4 separate regions of the Homo sapiens genome follow, and all the other regions are linked to region 1. Evidence: promoter capture Hi-C in human tissues and cell types (Jung and others, 2019). All regions are on one chromosome and are shown on one strand. The core of a region is centred on a gene start or on the middle of the fragment in contact, and the rest is flanking DNA. Distances in the headings are between cores, read along the strand shown. Region 1 holds the start of CACHD1 (cache domain containing 1). Region 2 overlaps JAK1 (Janus kinase 1). Region 3 has its middle 9.0 kb from the start of RAVER2. Region 4 overlaps RAVER2 (ribonucleoprotein, PTB binding 2).

Region 1 (2,995 bases), core at 131-2,630:
TTTTTCCAGTACTACTATGTGCTTGTGTGGATGATGTGGAGGTGAAGGGATTGGTCCCCACACTCAACATGCTTGCCTTAGTATGTAAAACAAACATCACAGGCTAGGCGCAGTGGCTCATGCCTGTAATCTCAGCACTTTGGGAGGCCGAGGCAGGTGGATCACCTGAGGTCAGGAGTTTGAAACCAGCCTGGCCAACATGGCGAAACCCTGTCTCTACTAAAAATACAAAAATTAGCAGGGGAGTTGAGAATGGAGAAGTGATCTCAATGAGGTAAAAATGGGCCAGGGAGAGCTTACAAGAGAAGATGACTTTTTAATACAATATAGTCAAAGATGTAAAACAGAAGGTTTTGCTGTAAAATGAAAAGAGTCCTAAATCCAGGTTCTAATCCTGCTACCACCTCTGCTAGGTAACCCTGGACTAGTCCTTTAACCTTCCAGTGTTGGCTCTGTTCTCCAGGAACCTGCAAGCAGCAACCACACAGGGCTTGGAAGGGAGAGTGGCTGTTCTCCACACACAGCAGGTTGACTTGTTCCAGGTGCTTCCAACAGGTGATTTCTCAGCGAGCCTGAGCCAGTAGTCAGGGACAAACAGGAAGGTTAACCTTGCCTCTCCATGCTTGGGAGAACAGGTGTGTGCGCGGTGGACTCCGGTTCAGTCGTTCTTTTTCTTTTTTCTTGCTTTTGATGGGATCAGATGGTTCATTTCCAAAGAGAGACAGAGAGAACTGTATCGTATTTAGGAGCAATAGCCTTGGAGTAAGACTTGTGCTTAAACTCTGGATTTGTTTCTTATCCCCTGGGTGACCTCTGGCAATTTATTCCACCTCTCTAAGCCTCAGTCTTTGTTACCTAAAAAATTGGGATAAAGATACGTACCTCCTATGGCATGTCGCGGAGATTAAAGGATAATGTGCACACCCCCGAGCCCAGTGCCGGGCACACGGTGGCTGGTTGCAACAGAAATCTGTGGGTGGAACGCTAGCTAGCCATTGTGATGAATAACATCAAGGAGAGGGAGTGGACCTACACATGGCAGTCCCCTTCTTCCCCAACCGCTGCCAGGCAGACAGCCAGCGTCCTAGAACTTAAAGGACTTTTCGATGGCTGGAACCTGGGCCGGGTGGGCTCCCTGGCGCGGACGGAGGCGGGGAGCGCTGGCGGGGGTCTCCGTCTCCAGCCACGGGAAGGTCCGTGGGCTCCCCTGCCCGGGCTGGGCCGGTCCCCGAGCAGAGAGAGAGGCTGGTCCCCCGGCCCCCGGCGTCCCGGGGGGCAGGTTCTGAGGCGGGAGCCAGGGAGAGAGAGGAGGGGCAACCGGGGGAATTTCCCCGCCTCTCTTGCTGGTTCCATAAATCACCGCAGCCGCCGCGGCGGCCCAGCCGGGAAGTGCACAGAGCCGGAGCGCAGCGTGGTGGCACCAGACGCCTCCCTTTCCCCACCGCTTGCTTTCTTTCTTTCAGTTGTGTGGGTTTGTGAAGCCTCCCCTTTCCCTCCTCGCTCGGGTGGCTGCCCCAGTCTCGCAGCCCGGCCGCCGCTCCTCTTCCCCGGGGGCCGCCGTCAGTCCTCGCCGCCGCCTGCTCGCTGCGCTGGGACTCGCAGGAAGCGAGAGCCGCGCGGCTCGGCTCGGGCTCCGACTCCGACTCCGATTCCGACTGTCAGCCCCGGGGCCCGCGCACCCCGGCCTGCGGGCGCCCCTGCTCTCGGAGACGCCCTCTGCGCCGCGGGGCCCGTGTGGGCGCCGGGCTCCGGGGACCGCTCGGGCGGCCGCCTCCTACCCCCACCGCCGCGGAGCCCCGCGATGGTGGCCGCCCGCGCTCCCGCGCTGTAGCCGGGCGCCCCCTAAGTTTGGGAGCCTTCGCCACCGCGGCGCGGAGCAGAGCCTGCAACAGAGGAAGAAACTTTTGCGGGGTGCGCCGCGCTTTTGCGGGGGGCACCTCCCGCGGCCCGCTTCCCCGCGCCCGGAGCCCGTCGGCGGGGAGTGGGGGGAGGCAGCATGGCCCGCCAGCCGGAGGAAGAGGAGACGGCCGTGGCCCGGGCGCGGCGGCCGCCCCTCTGGCTGCTCTGCCTGGTCGCGTGCTGGCTCCTGGGCGCCGGGGCCGAAGCCGACTTCTCCATCCTGGACGAGGCGCAAGTGCTGGCGAGCCAGATGCGGAGGCTGGCGGCCGAGGAGCTGGGGGTCGTCACCATGCAGGTAAGTGGCCCCCGAGCTGGCCAGACATCCCGCCTTTCTCCTTTGCTCAAACTCCCATCCCACTCCCGGTACAAGTCCCCTGGACTGTGTGCATCGGCTCCTTGCATACATAGAGCCCGGCTTCCCGTCGGACCCCTCTGTCCTCTGCACAGACCCCCTGACAATACACCAACTCTTCTTCCATGCATTCGTCTACCCCTGCCCTTCTCTGGAGAATCCCCTGCCCTCTGCACGGAACCCACTTGACCCTGCACAGCCCCCCTCTTCTGAGTACCAGCGCCTTCATCTCGTCAAGGATTCTCCAGTTTCCTCGCACGTCTTCTCTAATTTGCACACATTTCCCATGTAGGCTTGTTTTCACCCTGCCACGCCTGCAAACTCCCCCTTTGTGTCCCCATCCCAGAGCAGCCAGCCCCGTCTGGCTCGGACGATTTTCCGAAGTCCCCACCCCACCCCCTTGACCGCGTCCTCGCGTCCTCGCGTCCTCCCTACCGAGGCGCACCAATGGGCGCCGGGAGGGAAGGCGCCGCAGAGTACGCAGCTGCCCCGGGGACACCTAGGTCCCGGCGGAGAGCGGCCCTCCGAGTGGGCTCCGCGCTCCTTTCCCCTCCCGGGAGCATGGGGGGAGGGGCTGGCCTGGTAGATTCTGGGTAGACTCCCGACTCTAATCCTGCTGGGGGACTCTTTTTGTTGCTTTCCGCATATCCTGCTGTAGTTTGCGTGCTGTCTGCTGTATGATTTTTGTTTCGTGTGTGCCTTTTTGGGTCGAAGAAAAAGGGAGCAAAGTGAATAAGGTTCCCA
Region 2 (2,880 bases), core at 144-2,643, 370 kb after region 1:
GAGGGATTTGACATATGACTTGGAAGCCTTGAGAGTGTGTGGGAACCACCAGCTAGCATGTCAGACGCCCAGGTAAGGCCACGGAGTGCCTGTTTTGCACTGGCCTTTATGACCCTAGACAGTCACCAAATCTTTAAACCGGACCCCAGCCTTGCATAACATACCGTCTTCTGTGCAGATTCCTTTGTACTTCACAATGTTCTCATGATAGAGGTTCCTTAAGATCTCGATTTCCTTTTTCAGATCAGCTATGTGGTTACCTCCACTCTCAGGCTTCAGAGATTTAACAGCCACCTGCTCCCCTGTATTGTCCCCTTCGGGGTCATACCTGCAGAGCTCAACCTTCCCAAAGTGGCCCTGGAGGGAAAGATGCATGTGCTGTTATCAGGGAAGCCCCATCGTAGGCCACGGAACACACAGAAGTCTTGCTCCTCACAGCCGTTCCCCTGAGGGCCAGGGGTTCTCGCTGTCTGGCCTTGCAGGCAGAAGCCTCTCACCTGGACTGTACTTGCTCACTACAGCCCCCTCGCTCTCTTGGCCTCACAAACTGTCCCCTCAGTTACTGAGCCAAGACAAAGTAGCAGGTGACGATGAACCAACTCATCAATCCCAATTTCTATGACCACAGGAAATGAAGGTTATTTCTGGGCCTGCAGGACAACTGCCGTTCTCTAAAAGCCCTGGGCTCACGTTACAGGACAGGCCCCACAGCATGGCTGAAAAGAGCAAATGCATGAGGAGTCTTTAGAAGACGTGAGATCAGGTTCCAGCCAAGCCACCTGACAGCGACAGTGGTGGCCAAGTCCCCAAATCGGAGCTGGCTCCTGATGCACTCGCTGCATACAGAAACTGGCCTCGGGGACGGTGGGGGGAACTAAGGATGCCATGCTTCTGACAATGCCTGGCACAGTGGCTGGCACACAGCAGATCCTGGAGATGTATCAAGTCTGTTTCATTAACCAGACTACAGAAAATCTGTATAAAGACACAAATCTCAGTAGCTTCTCTAGTCACAATTAACTGTTTGGAAACTCCCATTTAAGGTCCAAAGAAACGCTGACACTCTATTTTGGGATTCTGTGCAATAAACCTATCCCTGCTCTAAAGAGCCTTACAGGGCTGGGTATGGTGGCTTATGCCTATAATCCCAGCACTTTGGGAGGCCTCCTTGCTTGAGGCCAGGAGTCTGAGAGCAGCCTAGTCAACATAGCAAGACCCCATTTCTACAATAAAAAATAAAAAATATTAGCCAGCATGGGGGCGTGTGCCTGTAGTTCCAGCTACTCAGGAGGCTGAGGCAGGAAGATTGCTTGAGCCTGGGAAGTTGAGGCTGCAGTGAGCTATGATCACACCACTCACTCCAGCCTGGGACACAGAGCGAGACCCTGTCTCTCGGGGGCAAAAGAAAAAGAGAGAAGCTTACAGGATATATATGCCCGGGAAAGTCAGAGGCAAGGATTTTCCTATTCCACCATATCTATACCTACTCCCCCATCTCTCCCTCTTTCCATTCTCTTCTGTCCTGTAGAGAAAACTCAAGTCTCTCAAGGGAGCTGCCCAGAGTCCCGTGTGCATACACAGTCGTGCATGCAGGCAGGGACGTGCATTCCGTCCGTGCCGTGTGTCACATGGAGAAAGACACAATCCCTTGTGATGAAAGTGGCCCCCAAATGCAGTAAGGTGCTTTCGCTCATGGACCTGGCCCCAGAATGAAAAAGAATGGAGAGCAGCTGTACGTGCAGAGAGTGGCGCTGTGGATGGCGGAGGGCTCTGCCATCAGCAGCAAGCAGCACGGGTGTAACTTACCTCTCCCAAGTCACGGATCCTCTTTAGGAAGCGCTTTTCAAAATGTGTGGGGTCCACTTCAGTTGCTGGTTTTTTTTCTGAAACAATATCTGGATCTAACAGAAGAGAAAAGAAAACAGAGTGAAAGGCAGTCGATTGCCAGGGATTGCCACCCAGGCTCCTGTTTCTCCCCAAGCTGGGTTAAAGCAGCACATGGCAGGTCTTACTCTGCTCTTCAAGCTTATTAATGTCTCTCATGATGGCTCGGAAGAAAGGCCTCTGATTGGGGTCATAGTTCATGCAGCGGGTCATGAGGTCAGCCAGCTCCTTACATGATGGTGTCACTGGCCTGCACCGGCTTTCATAGAATCTCTCTTTCTGTAAACAAGAGGGGCACATGGAAGAAACCAAAGGAACCACCTACAAACTTCTCAGCCCCAGGTCAGGTGGAATTGCCAATTCCTCATTCGATTCTCAACATCTCCACTTACAGGTAGATTTCGTAAGTGTTTGTTACTGCTGCCTTATTCTTGCAAGGGGAAATCACAGTCCTAATACTGAATAGTCCAAATTCAAGGAGACTGGGCACTATAGCCCAGTCCCAAAAAGCTTCATTCAAGTAAAGGCATGCAGCCTTTCTGGAATACAATTGGGCAACATGTACAAAAATCTTCAGATTCTTCAAACCCTCTGATGCATTAACTTCAATGACTGAATGACTCAGAAATAAATCAGATATGAACAAATATTTATGTACAAGGATGTTTCCTGCAGAATTAGACAGAACACTGGAAATTTGAAAACTTAAATGCCAAATATAAAATTAGTCAAGTAAATTAAACAAAACAATTAACTCTTACATTAAATTTGTAAAAATTATGATTTAATCTCACAGGAAAGCATTCTCAGTATTAAATGAAAAAACTCAGAATTTTATATAACTCTATCTAGCATGGCCCCAATTTTGTTTAAAAAAGAGAGATACAAACAGGCTGGAAGACAAAATGCCAAAGTGTTAACAGTGGTCAGGGATGACAAGAATGCAGTGATTGCTGTTTTCTTTTTTTAATAGTTTCATTTTAAAAATTTTCTTCA
Region 3 (2,840 bases), core at 1-2,500, 270 kb after region 1:
GTAGGTACAGCCACTAGCTGGAGGCTGCTGGCCAACTACACTCAGACGGCGTGTTCTCTAGAAGGGAGAGAGGCCTGAGTATGAATGCTGCAGATCTGTAGGTACAGCCACTAGCTGGAGGCTGCTGGCCAACTACACTCAGACGGCGTGTTCTCTAGAAGGGAGATCTGAAGGGTACACCTACACAATCAAGTCTAAGCGGCAGGAGCAGTAAATTAAGCCAAGGCCAGGAAGCCAGCTGGAAAATGGGATGGGAGCCTGCAAAGGGGCTCCCATTGTAGGTAATAAGCAAAGGCATGCGCAAATTCTACCTTTATTTACATGTGCATGGCTGTAGTGGGTGGGTTTAGTGTATGGGTGTATGGACTGGTTTAATGTTACAACAAGCATGAAGGAGTTCATGTGAGTACATGGACAGCCATGAGAAATGTGCATTGATAAGGAAGGAGACAAAAAAAATCTATAAAAAGCAGACACAAGAATAAAGAGGGTATAGCTTTATGGAGCCATTTAATATACGAAAAAATCACACTATAATCCTCAGTATACCCAGAGGGCAATCACTGTATTACTGGAATCATCACGAAAGGGCAATTCAAGTTGAATATCATCTATTTCAGGAGGTAAATATGTACACCTTAATATGTGTTATTTTAAAAGAGTTTCAACAAAATGGTTTTTAATGTCACATGCTTAAATGGTAAGTCCCTCCATCCTATACAAAATTTTTATAATTTAAAAAGACTTATTTCCCTGCTGGATAGCTGGGTTGTACTTTATTACCTTTCAAACATTCATGCTGCCTGCTCCATGGTTTTTTCTATAATTTTATAGCTTCCATTCTGCCAGTTTTATAAATTACATTTCTGATAGAAAGTACACTACTCTCTTAGACTGCCACAATTCAGAAAGCAAGTGCCAAAAGAAACTAAACTTTAATGTCCAAGAGAACAATTCTTTTTGTGTCATTTCATACAATTCAAGGTTCAAGGGAAATGTTCGTGGTTTGCATATTTATAATTTTTATAATACCTTCCATAACTGTACAAATAAAAATAAATGTAAATCTGTATCAGAGTAAGGGCTTAAAATATTTTTAAGGTATGTTTAGATTATGACAAGTGAAAAGTCTATGAGTGACACTCTGTGGCTAAATTTAAACTAAGAAAAGTCATTTGTATTAAGTAACATCATTTAGTTGTAAGTACTCACAGGCACTGTGTTTTATGGCATAAAGTTAGATATGAGGCCATGACTGCAGTTAAATTTTGAATAGCAGAAATTTAATTCCTCTGTTATCATCAGCACCACCATCAATTCATCTTCCTCATCATCGTTACTATTACTATATACTTATATATAAATAATAATATTTATACTACTACTACTATCATCACATCTATACTTTCACATTCCCCTTGGTGGCTCTAAATCTGAAAGCAGTAAGAAAAGCAGAGAATGTGGGAACAGACCTGGGTTTGAGTTCTAAATTTGCTTCATACTGGCTGTATGACTTTAGGCAGTTTTCTTAACTTCATTATGTCAGGAGACTTGTTTATAATGCAGGGATAATAATACCCACTCCAAACAGTGCTTGTGAGAATTAAATATATGTAAATCACCTATGAAGACAACAAATTTTAATGTCCTGCTAAAATCTCCCCACTATCAGAGGATGATTCCTTCTGCTTCTGGAGAAAATTAGAATGTTTAAAGTTTATTGAACTTTTTTTTAATAGGTCACTCTCCCTATTCTCTCCCCTTCAATAAACACGCTTGTTTATTGAAGTTGCTCTCATTCAAAGGCACCAGAAGCTTCCTAATGGCCAAATCCAGTTATAGTCATGCACTGCTTAATGACGTTTCAGTCAACAATGAACCACATGTAGGAAGGTGGTCCCATAAGATTATAATGGAGCTGAAAAATTCCTACCACCTAGTGATGTCCCAGCTGTCCTACAGTCATAATACAATGCATTACACATGTGTTTGTGGTGATGCTGTTGTAAATAAACATACTCCTCAAGAAGAGCCCCAGGCAGGTCCTTCGGGAGGTATTCCAGAAGAAGGCATTGCTGTCATAGGAGATGACAGCTCCACGCCTGTTATTGCCCTGAAGATCTTCCAGTGGGACAAGATGTGTGGGCAGAAGACAGCGGTATTGATAATTCTGCTCCTGAGGAGGCCTAGGCTGTTGTGTGTGTTTGTGTTTTTAAAAACACTTAAAAAGTAGAATAAATAAATAAATTTTAAATAGAAAAAAGCTTACAGAATAAGGATATAAAGAAATATTTTTTGTATAGCTGTACCATGTGTTGTTTTAAGCTAAGTGTGTTACAAGAGAGTAAAAAGGTTAAACAATTTTAAAGTTTATAAAGTAAAATAGTTATAGTAAGCTAAGTCTATTATCAAAGAAAGAAAATTAAAAAAATTAGTGTAGCCTAAGTATACAGTAGTTATAAAGCCTACAGTGTACAGTCATGTCCTAGGCCTTCACATTCACTCACCTCCCATCACTCACTCACCCAGAGCTTCCAGTCTTGCAAGCTCTATGCATGGCGAGTGCCCTATACAGGTATGCCATTTTCTTATCCTTTATATCATATATTTGCTGTATTTTCTCCTTGTTTAAATATGTTTAGATACACAAATACTTACCATTGTGTTATAATAGCTTACAGTATTCAGTATGGTAACATGTTGTACAAGTTTGTAGCCTAGGAGCAATAGTCTATGCCATATACCCTAGGTGTGGAGTAGGTTACCATATATACCTAGGGTATACCATATACCCTAGGTTTGTGTATGTACATTCTGTGATGTTTCCACAGCAATGAAAT
Region 4 (2,803 bases), core at 161-2,660, 280 kb after region 1:
TCAGTTGCCTTTCTTCCTCTTGCCTGTCCTAATTACACCCAGATTTCCCCTTGAAGACCTACCTCTTTTTTAGCAACTGTATGATTTGGGTGGATTTCATCTCTATCCCCATCTGTAGGGGTGACATAAACCAAAGAACACAGTTCTTCCCTTTTTCGAGAGGGATTGGTTAAAGACGGGCAATAACCTGGACCAAAGCCCATCAATACATGATAGCCCCTTGGTCATAGTGATTATTTCAGCCTGGCTTAGCAGACAAACTTAGGACTTGTGTTTGGTTGTTAAAGTAAGTGAATCTCTTTCTCTCTGCTGGATATGAATGCAGAGACATATGGCTCTGGCTGCAGCTGACAGTCATTAAGGGAGCAGACATGCAAAGGAGGACTGACCTTGGAGGGGAAATGTAGAGAAGCTGAGCTGGAGCCCTGATCGAACTATATCTGAAGCTTAACCTGCCTCTGGACTTCATATATATGCAAGCCACTAAATCCCTTTTATTGTTTCACTTATTTCAAGTTGGATCTTTTGTTACTACCAACCAATAGTATCCCAGATTAACAGGTTGGAGTACAGTGGCACAATCATGCCTCACTGCAGCCTCGACCTTCCTCGCTCAAGCAATCCTTCTACCTCAGTCTCCTGAGTATCTGGGACCACAGATGCATATAACCATGCTGGCTAATATTTTGAATTTTTTTCTAGAGAGGGGATTTTGCCATGTTGCTCAGGCTGGTCCCAAACTCCTAGGCTCAACCAATCTGCCCTGCTTGGCCTCCCAAACTGTTGGGATTATAGGTGTAAGCCACCATGTCTGGCTTTTTTTAAAAAAAATATTTTTGTTTCAAAGAAATCCCCACAAATAAGGTATCCTATTCCATCTTCAGACAGCTTTCTTTGTTATAAAGGTCTTATTTATGTGTAATATATACAATGTATTCACTTGAAGTCTTGATCCAACGTCTACCCTCTGGCAATGTATAGAATTCTTTTTTTTTTTTTTTTTTTTTGGAAACGGAGTCTCACTCTGTTGCCCAGGCTGGAGTGATCTCGGCTCACTGCAACTGTAACCTCCGCCTCCCAGTTTCAAGTGATTCTCATGCCTCAGCCTCCCGAGTAGCTGGGATTACAGGCGCCCGCCACCACACCTGGCTAATTTTTGTATTTTTAGTAGAGACAGGGTTTCACCATGTTGGTCAGGCTGGTCTCAAACTCCTGACCTTGTGATCTGCCCACCTCGGCCTCCCAAAGTGCTGGGATTACAGGCGTGAGCCACCGTGCCCGGCCTCTCATTTTTAACTTATAACTTAAATTCCTTCAAATGACTAGTTTTTAGGACATGATTCCAAGTTTCCTCGCCATCTCATTTATTTTTCTCTGAATACACATCATTACCACTTTGTCATTGTATCTTTTAAAATATGGTACCCAAAATTGAGTATGGTAGTCTAGTTGAGATCTCCCTGTAATCCCCAGCCAGAACAAATTTCTCTTTCCTCTGGATGTCTATAATAATAATAACCTTTGTTTTTTGGGGGCCTACCATTGCCAGGCACCATACTTAGAGTTGTTTAATATTATATTTAATCCTCATTTTAAGACTATAAGATTGGAATTTCTTATTCCCATTTGATTGCTAGAGAAACAAAGATGCAAAATTAATGTCAAACAATTTGCCCAAGATCATTCAGCTAATTGGTGGTAGAGTGGAGAACCAATTCTGTTTGATTCCAAAGCTTATATCCTTATCTCCCATTGTATTATAATTCCTCTCTATGCAGCTATATTGTTAGTGTTTCAAAGGGCAAGGATCATGTTGTGTTTACCTTTGTATCCTCAACCTGTAACCTAGAAACTGACACATTGTTTGAAGAGAAATGTAAAAGAAGCGGACTACCCACCTACCTTGTTCTAAAATGCTATATTTCCATTGAGACGTCTGACCCCCGGCACACTCTCAGGATTGATTTGTTAATAAATTTTGCAATGTACCACTCTGTTAGCTTTTTTGGCAGGGAACTCTCTCCATTCACTTATAATTATTCAATCAGTCAACTGTTTATGGCTTAAGAGTCTGTTGAAAGCTGTAAACCCTCCAAGAAAGTGCTAATATTCATAAGCACACAAAATTTGCATATTATTTCAAGGGGGTATGGATCTCTTATAGCTTATCCCTGATTTCATTAGGGGATTGTAGACCCTAGGTTGAAAAGTGCTGTTGCAGGTCAACAAAATTTTAGTCATGTCTTTGGGACTTTACCTGAGTAGGGACCATTTGGGCAGATCCAAAGCTGTTGCTTCAGTAGAGTTTTCATCAGAAACTTCTGTAGGCCACGTTTATGCATGAGGGTTTGGGTAGTGATCCTTTATCTGGGCAAGAATATAAATCAGGCTCAATAATTTTCTTTTTAAACAAATCAACCATGCGACTTCATGTTTGATGCAAAAGCTTATTGCTCTCTAGTCACTCAGCAGCCCACAACTGACATTTTAGGTTCTGTGCCTGGCCCAGAGTGGATGCTCAACAAAGTAAATTTTTAAAGAGGTTTTCAAGAAGTTACAATGTAATATTTCCTCCTTAACATTTATTAAAAGTCAAACATTGATACAAAGAATGTTTTTCTTTAAAACAAATCAAGAATATTATCCATTCTGTTTAATGTCTTCACAATAAGTATCCTGATTTCTTAGTAAGAAAATAAGTTTCTCTTTTGTTAGATTTTAGGGGTGCAACTCATTGTGAGCCCCTAAACTTGTCTTCTAGGTATTTGGAGCTTAATTTTATGTTTATTTACTACTGTTATCT

The links. Contacts are between HindIII fragments. The study calls those that stand out against the background at their distance.
Region 2: a contact is called between a fragment that was not itself captured here and the fragment with the promoter of CACHD1 in region 1, in 1 of the 25 tissues and cell types used here (bladder).
Region 3: a contact is called between a fragment that was not itself captured here and the fragment with the promoter of CACHD1 in region 1, in 1 of the 25 tissues and cell types used here (aorta).
Region 4: a fragment that was not itself captured here is called in contact with the fragment with the promoter of CACHD1 in region 1 in 1 of the 25 tissues and cell types used here (bladder).

What each region holds. Positions count from the first base shown.
Region 1 is chr1:64,468,749-64,471,743 of GRCh38, forward strand. CACHD1 (cache domain containing 1) reads left to right here and starts at 1,381. Exons shown (of 27, transcript NM_020925.4): 1 at 1,381-2,194. The coding sequence starts at 1,997. It overlaps LOC107984966 (a long non-coding RNA gene), which reads right to left and starts at 1,277. Exons shown (of 2, transcript XR_001738100.2): 1 at 438-1,277. RefSeq lists a silencer at 1,591-1,710. The HindIII fragment of the contact is 8,534 bases long and covers 1-2,995 here.
Region 2 is chr1:64,839,439-64,842,318 of GRCh38, forward strand. It overlaps JAK1 (Janus kinase 1), which reads right to left. Exons shown (of 25, transcript NM_002227.4): 18 at 2,013-2,163; 19 at 1,807-1,901; 20 at 165-357. Among named protein-coding and RNA genes, the nearest start is that of RAVER2, 96 kb to the left of the region's middle. The HindIII fragment of the contact is 3,854 bases long and covers 1-2,880 here.
Region 3 is chr1:64,734,683-64,737,522 of GRCh38, forward strand. No RefSeq gene overlaps it. Among named protein-coding and RNA genes, the nearest start is that of RAVER2, 9.0 kb to the right of the region's middle. The HindIII fragment of the contact is 4,782 bases long and covers 1-2,840 here.
Region 4 is chr1:64,752,538-64,755,340 of GRCh38, forward strand. All of the region lies in intron 1 of RAVER2 (ribonucleoprotein, PTB binding 2), which reads left to right. Among named protein-coding and RNA genes, the nearest start is that of RAVER2, 8.9 kb to the left of the region's middle. The HindIII fragment of the contact is 3,115 bases long and covers 1-2,803 here.